2 separate regions of the Homo sapiens genome follow, and region 2 is linked to region 1. Evidence: promoter capture Hi-C in human tissues and cell types (Jung and others, 2019). All regions are on one chromosome and are shown on one strand. The core of a region is centred on a gene start or on the middle of the fragment in contact, and the rest is flanking DNA. Distances in the headings are between cores, read along the strand shown.

Region 1 (3,759 bases), core at 499-2,998:
TCTCAGCTCACTGCAACCTCTGCCTCAAGGTGTGGATTTCAACGTGCGCAGTCTCCTGGGACCTCAGCAGGGCAGAGGATCATGGGATGCAGAGTCTCTTGGGGGGGTCCGTGGAATCCCCTAACTCGGGAGTCTCACCCAGGGTGATTCTGCCCCCGCCAAGGGACACTGGGTGATGTCTGCGGATACTTGTGGTTGTCACAACTGGGGGTGCTCAAGGCATGGAGTGGGTGGAGGCCAGGGACGCTGCTCAGCGCCCTGCAGTGCCCAGGGCGGCCCCAAATGTCAACCGCAGGAGTTAATTTCTGCCTCAACACCTGAATAGCGAATGCTCGTAGCAGAGATGCAACAACAGCCTTCTGGTGCAGTACGAAATCTCGAAAGACAGGCAGGCGCGGTGGCTCACGCCTGTTAATCCCCAAACTTTGGGAGGTCGAGGCAGGCGGATCACCTGAGGTCAGGAGTTCCAGACCAGCCTTGCCAACATGGTGAAACCCCATCTCTACTAAAAATACAAAAATTAGCCGGGCGTGGTGGCGGGCACCTGTAATCCCAGCTCCTCAGGAGGCTGAAGCAGGAGAATCGCTTGAACCTGGGAGGCGGAGGTTGCAGCGAGCCGAGATTGCGCCACTGCACTCCAGCCTGGGTGACAGCCAGGCCCGGTCGCAAACAAAACAAAATTAAAACCATGAAAGGAATCAGGATTTGCCAGGAGTAGCATTTTTGCTTGGTAAGAACAAAATTTTGTTTATACATGAAATAAAAAATATTTTATTAAACCTCACTGCAAAGTGGCAACTTTTTGCTAAATTCATAATTTAGTCTACACACAAGCTATGTACCCGTATGTGACTGCCAAGAGTTATATCTTTGCTTATTAAAAGCAAAGTGCAGTTCATACCTGAGATTTTTTTTCTGGATTTAACCAGGAGGGGAAATATTTTTGCTAGGTAAGTCCACATTTTACCTCACAGGCGAAACAGTTTACCGAACTTGACCACCAAAGAAATCGTTTTTTCCTTGGGAGATCCACATTTTAGTTCATACATGAGATGTGTTTCTGAATTTTAACTGCCAGGAGTAGTGTTTTTCCTTAGGGTAAGTTTCAGTTTCCACAGGAAAAATCTGAATTTATCTGCAAGGAGTAAAATTTTTGCTTAAGTCCAAATTGTACACGAAATATTTTACTAAATTTGAATATCTTTAACATTGGAAGTTCTTTTTTTTTAAACACTGGAAGCATTTTAAGAACTGCAAGACCAAATTTAAAAAAATAAAACCAGTAATATCATCGATGATTACCAGGTGTTACTGGAAATAATTCTGGCGCGGTTGGACAACCCCCCAAGCACCCGGGGGCCTACCCAGGGGAGGGGTCCCGCTGCGTGAAGGGACCCTAGGGAGGGCGACGTGGACCACGACAGACAAACGGGCACTCGAAGACCCCCGAAAATCGGCCCCAGCGAGCCGCCCCCGCCCCCAAGGCACGATTGTGGGGGCGGGGACGGCTCGGGGCGCGCGCAGCGCGTACCCGGCGCCACGGCAGCCCCGCCCCCAGAAGGACGCGCGCAGGAGGGGGCGTGGCCCGAGGCTCACCAACCAATCTCCAGAGAGCCTCTTCCTTTCCCTTTCCCTTTCACCAATCAGGCGCTGGGAGGGGCGGGCGCGACTTTTTTTCCCGGCGGCCCCGCGGCTCTGCCCCTCGTGCGGTCGCGTTCCCGGCGGCGCGGGGGGCGTGGCCTGGGCGCAGCATCTATAAAGGCGGGCGGCGGCAGAGGCGCCATTTTGCGAACGGCGAGCAGCGGCGGCGGCGCGGAGAGACGCAGCGGAGGTTTTCCTGGTTTCGGACCCCAGCGGCCGGATGGTGAAATCCTCCCTGCAGCGGATCCTCAATAGCCACTGCTTCGCCAGAGAGAAGGAAGGGGATAAACCCAGCGCCACCATCCACGCCAGCCGCACCATGCCGCTCCTAAGCCTGCACAGCCGCGGCGGCAGCAGCAGTGAGAGGTAAGTGCCCCGCCCCCGTCCGAAGCTTCCAGAAGCGCCGGCCGCGCAGGCCTGCGGGGGGCCGTCCTCGGGGCGCCAGATAGGTCCCCGGCGCGCGAGATCCGCCCCTTTGTCAAGGCCAGAATCGCGCCGGGGACGAGGTAGGCGCAGGGCGGGCCTGGAGGTCCCCCCCGGCCTTAGCAGTGCTCTCGGGGGAGTCGGGTTTGGGGGGCAAGGGTGCGGAGTTGGATTTGGGGGGCACCGTCCGGGGCGCCTGATTTGCGGGAGGGGCATGGGTCGGAGGTCGGATTTGGGCGCAGGACGGGGAGTCGGGGGAGGCGTGTGTCTTTTGCGGGGTTCGCGGGATGGGACTCGGCTTCGGAGGAGGGGAGAGGCTTCTGGTCGAGGGTTGGATTTGCGGGGCGCAGACTGGGAATTCGGTTTGGAGGAAGGGTGTGCGGTCGGGTCGGATTTGGGAGGCGCAGGATGGGGCAATCTGGTTGGGGGCGGGGTCGGCCTTGGGGGGCTGGTCCGCGGACAGGCAGGGCCCGCGGGGCTGGTGAATCTGCACTTTTCGGTCCCGGCCGTCGAGCGTGCGCTGCGGGAGCGGGGAGCGCTTTGCGGTGGACGAGCTCCCGCGGGTCCCTGTTGCCTCGATGTGGCCCCTGCACGCGACGGACCTCGTGGGCCCCGTTTTTCGCCCCTGAGCGAGTCGGTCTGGATGGCCCGGGACGCGCCGGGCGAGGCCGCGCACGTAGACGGCACCCAGGGCTTCTCCGCGGGGGCCGCCGGGGAGCTGGGGGTGGCGCACTCCGACAGCCCGGCAGCGCCCTGGGAAGACCCCCGCCGCTTCCCGGGAAGACGCGTCCCGCTTCCGGGGGCGCGGGTGCCAGCTGCGGTTGTGGGGGAGCCCGCGGGGTCTCGGTCGAGCTTTCCCGACTGCGTCCCCCGAGGTGGGCGTCGCTCAGCCCCGGATCGGGAGGTTGGGCCGCGGTGCTGGCGGTGCCGCGGTTTGGGGGCCGTGCAAAATGGAGGCAACTTTGGGGCCTGTTTACCCTGCGCAGCAAATGGCTGCTGGCGCTGCCGGCTGCGCGATTGTGAAAATCTCCCCCGGGGCGCGAGGCCGCGTCTGCCTGGATGACGCAACCGGGAGGGCCCGGGCCTGGAGCGGGGGCGGGGGGGCGGGCGGCCGGGAGCCGGAGCGGGGCGCGTCCTCCATGAGGTCAGGCTAGGCCCGCCCGGTCTTCGCGGGGACAAGCAAGAGTCCCAGATTTTGGCCGTAGTGCAGGGTGGAAAGGGGAAGCCGCGACAGAACTGAAAAGGGGAAGCGCTGGCTGTCTTGGTGGCCGGGGGGTGAGGCTCTGCCCCGGCGGGGCTGCGTGAGGGGAAGGGGCCCCCCGCCCTGGGAAGGTTGGGCTGTCCTGGGCGGCGCCGCCCGAGGAGTCGGGGCTCAGTGACTGCTGCCCTTGTAGGTGCTTGGGGCAGGCGTTGGAGCTGCCTTCGGGAAGCCTCGGGGGTGTGGGACCGGGTGGGCCCCTGCCTGGGCGGGGCGGGGTCTTTTGGCCGAGGCAGGGGTGGGGATGTGCTGAAGGCCGCCCGGACGCCCTGGAGGGGTCTCCGCCCGGAGCCTGGCGCTGCCTCGTGACCTGCATCATCTTCAGTTCCAGGGTCTCCCTCCACTGCTGTAGTAACCCGGGTCCGGGGCCTCGGTGGTGCTCCTGATGCCCCTCACCCACCCCTGAAGATCCCAGGTGGGCGAGGGAATAGTCAGAG
Region 2 (3,759 bases), core at 663-3,162, 63 kb before region 1:
CCTGTCACCCCCTCCATGGTCCTCGTACCCGCTGCCCTAGAACGCCTCTTCTGGCTGTTTCTCGCCAGCTTTCTCTGCACGATCAGACGTGGTGGCTGAGTCAGGGTACTGCAGTGGCGTCTTCTGTCCGGCCCCTCCCTGTTTTGAACATGTCCAGTGAAGGGCAGGTGGCCAGTAGTGCTGATTCTAGGGGCCTTGATGGTCCCAGACATGCCCATGAGCATTTGTTAGCCTGGCTCTGCAACCATTAGACGTGGCCCTGCTCATGTTTGAGGTCCTCTGGTAGGGATACTGGCCTAACCTGTGTGCCCAGCCTGGCCCTGGAACCGCCCTTCCTGCTCCTCCTGAGGGGAGTGGTGTGTAGAATGCCAGGCCTGGGCTGGTGTGGCGTCCAGGGGAGGAGAGCTGGGATGGCGGAGTGTGCATGTGTTTAAATGGATCCACTTTGACTTTTAATTTTTTTTTTTTTGGAGACGGAGTCTCACTCTGTCGCCCAGGCTGGAGTGCAGTGGCGCAGTTTCTGGTCACTGCAAGCTCCGCCTCCCAGGTTCACGCCATTCTCCCGCCTCAGCCTCCCGAGTAGCTGGGACTACAGGCGCCCGCCACCACACCTGGCTAATTTTTTTGTATTTTTAGTAGAGACAGGGTTTCACTGTGTTAGCCAGGATGGTCTCGATCTCCTGACCTCGTGATCTCCCTGCCTCGGCCTCCCAAAGTGCTGGGTTACAGGCATGAGCCACCGCACCTGGCCCACATTTTGACTTTTATGATTACCTTCTTTATATGTGTAAAAACAGAAGGCTCTGTTTCTCTCGGTCCTGCGAAGTTCGGCTCCTGACACCAAGTTCTTCCTGCAGCACACACAAGATGCCCCATAGTGGCTGGTGATAGTGAGACTGACGCTTAGCAGCAGCCTTGCAGGTGCCTGGCTGACTTTTTTGTATTTTTAGTAGAGACGGGGTTTCACTGTGTTGGTCAGACTGAGGCTGAAGGTGTCCATCCGGTCTGTTTGTCTTTGCATTTATCACTGACAGTCAGTTAGAATCCCAGGGTTCAGAGGTATTTGAAATAATTCTTTTCGCATGACTGTTTCCAGTTTGCATCTACAGTTAGATTTTGTTCCTGCTTGTGTACGGCTTGGGGGTTTGCTCTTCCTGCCTCTCAAACCTTAGTTTTTTGTTTTGTTTTTTTTTGAGACAGGGTCTTCATCCTTGGCCCAGGCTGGAGTGCACTGGTGTGATCATAGCTCCCTGCAGCCTTGACCTCCTGGGCTCAAGTGATCCTCCTGCCCCAGCCTCCCGAGTAGCTGGGATCACAGGCATGCACCATCATGCCCAGCTAATTTTTTATTTTAATTTTTTGTAGAGATGGGGTCTCCCTGTGTCCCAGGCTGGGCTGGAACTTCTGGCAGTCTGCCCGCCTTGGCCTCCCATAATGCTGGGTTTACAGGCGTGAGCCTGTGCGCCTGGCAGCGTAGTGGGTTTTTTTTTTCTTTTGAGGCAGAGTCTCTCTCTATCGCCCAGGCTGGAGTGCAGTGGCGCGATCTCGACTCACTTGCAGCTTCCACCTCCCAGGTTCAAGTGATTCTCCTGCCTCAGCCTCCCGAGTAGCTGGGATTACAGATGTGCGCCACCACACCTGGCTAGTTTTTGTATTTTTTTAGTAGAGACACGGTTTTACCCTGTTAGCCAGGCTGGCCTCGGGTGATCCACCTGCCTCAGCCTCCCAAAGTGCTGGGATTACAGGCATGAGCCACTGCACCGCGCCGAGAATGTTTTTTAAAGAAGCATTATTTGTAGGAGGTTGGGCGTGGTGGCTCACTTGAGGCCAGGAGTTCCAGACAAGCCTGGCCAGCAGGGTGAAACCCGCTCTCTACTAAAAATCCAAAAATTAGCCAGGTGTGGTGGTGTGCGCCTGTAATCACAGCTACTCGCAAGGCTGAGGCAGGAGAACCGCTTGAACCAGGGAGGTGGAGGTTGCAGTGAGCCGGGAGACTCTGTCTCAAAAAAAAAAAAAAAAAAAAAAAGTTATTTGTAGAATAGGCTTCAACTTGGAAGGTGTTTCCTAGTGTTGCTTGTAGGCAGGTGGACAGGACCCGGAGCCCAGTGTGTGTGTGTTCCGTGTCATTGTTCCTTCTCTGTCACCTTGAGTGGTGTCTGCTCTTCTGTTTCCTCTCTCCTGTGTGGCAGTAAGCAGTGTCTGTGTTTCAGGTGGCAGAATCGTGTCCTCGAAACCCTTTGCACCTCTGAACTTCAGAATAAACAGTAGAAACTTGAGTGGTAAGAAACTCTCATGTTGTTAATGATGAACACGGGTAATTTTAACCATCTGACACGCAGTATTCCTAGGTCCCTCTTCCTTGACCCTGTGGACACTGGGGCTGGATCCTTCTGTGGGGTGGGGCTGTCCTGGGCAGTGCAGGGTGCTGAGCAGCGTCCCTGGTGTCCACCCACTCCATGCCAGGAGCACCCCTGGTCGCGACAACCACACACGTCCCCATAGAGCACTGTGTGCCATGGGGGTAGAATCACTCCTCGGGGAGACCCCGGCTTCGAGGGGAGGCGTGAAGGATTTACAGGACTTTTGTGGACAGAGACAGGCCCACGGTGGGAAGGAGCCGGCCCCTCCCATGCCCCCTGCCTGCCTTACTGTGCTGCGTGCTCTGTCAGCTCCCAGCCTTGCGGGGCAGCACGGCCTCCTCTGAGGGGCTTCCCTGAGGAGCGCCCACCCGGGAGGTGCCTGTGTTGCTGGATGCTGGCCGTTCTTGCAGCCGTGATCTAAGTCGCTTCCAGATCTTCTCCCCCTCCTTTTCCATTCCACTCAGCTGGGTTTGTGGCTGTTTTTCTGAGGTTGGAGGGGCCCAGGCCAGGTGGTGTTGAATGGTGCACCTCCCTGGGCCGGCCTCTGTGGGCCACTGTGGCCTGACGCAGTGTGGGAGAAGAGGGAAGACGCGCAGCTCAGGCTTCTGTCCCCACGCCTGCCCTGGGGTGGGTGAGGTCTGCATGGAGGGGCTGTGGGCAGGCGCAGGCCCCGGCCTCACCTGTGGCTCCTGCAGACATCGGCACCATCATGCGCGTGGTGGAGCTCTCGCCCCTGAAGGGCTCGGTGTCGTGGACGGGGAAGCCAGTCTCCTACTACCTGCACACTATCGACCGCACCATAGTGAGTATCTCGCTGCGCCTCAGCCGCAGGGCCGTCCTGGTCTTCCACCCCGCCCACGTCACACTGCTCTCTCCTTTCTCATGTGGCCTCTGAGACCCTCCCCTCAGAGCCCTCAACGCCCCCCGGCCCCTGAGCTCAGGCCCAGCTCCTCAAGGCCCCTCAGTACTGCTTGCACCGCAGGACCCACCAGGGTCCTCCCAGGCACTGGGCGTGTCCTGGGTGAGGGCTGAGTGCTGTCTCCCCTAGTCTACGCTCAGCTCCTGGGGTGGGGCGGGGCCATCAGAGTGATGTGTGACCATAAGGGTCCCGGCCGCCATATCCAGAGGCCCCTGTGGATAGGAGTCCCACGTCCCTGTTCCCAGCTTCCTCCATGTGAGAGGGTCCTGAGCGGGGAGACACCAGGGTCCATGGGTGGGGTCTGGGATGCTTCTTCCCTCCCTGTGTTCCCCAGGGTCCTCTGACACAGCCCTGGGCCAGTGTGCGGCCTGCCTGCCTCCCACGGTGCTTCCCCCCCGGGCACGAGTATCCCGAGCCTCCTGGCATGTGGGCAGCGCCAGCCCTCCAGGGCTGGGAGGCTTCCCCTGGTCTCTTTCCCGT

Evidence for each region. Contacts are between HindIII fragments. The study calls those that stand out against the background at their distance.
Region 2: a fragment that was not itself captured here is called in contact with the fragment with the promoter of OAZ1 in region 1 in 1 of the 25 tissues and cell types used here (adrenal gland).

Annotation. Positions count from the first base shown.
Region 1 is chr19:2,267,738-2,271,496 of GRCh38, forward strand. OAZ1 (ornithine decarboxylase antizyme 1) reads left to right here and starts at 1,749. Exons shown (of 5, transcript NM_004152.3): 1 at 1,749-2,007; 2 at 3,648-3,759. The coding sequence starts at 1,862. LOC105372240 (a long non-coding RNA gene) reads right to left here and starts at 1,516. Exons shown (of 2, transcript XR_936242.3): 1 at 1,365-1,516; 2 at 756-1,135. RefSeq lists silencers at 1,316-1,805, 2,771-2,830, 3,041-3,240, 3,251-3,590 and an enhancer at 1,448-2,062. The HindIII fragment of the contact is 6,913 bases long and covers 1-3,001 here.
Region 2 is chr19:2,204,519-2,208,277 of GRCh38, forward strand. It overlaps DOT1L (DOT1 like histone lysine methyltransferase), which reads left to right. Exons shown (of 28, transcript NM_032482.3): 10 at 2,211-2,279; 11 at 3,056-3,162. Among named protein-coding and RNA genes, the nearest start is that of DOT1L-AS1, 9.2 kb to the right of the region's middle. The HindIII fragment of the contact is 7,781 bases long and covers 1-3,759 here.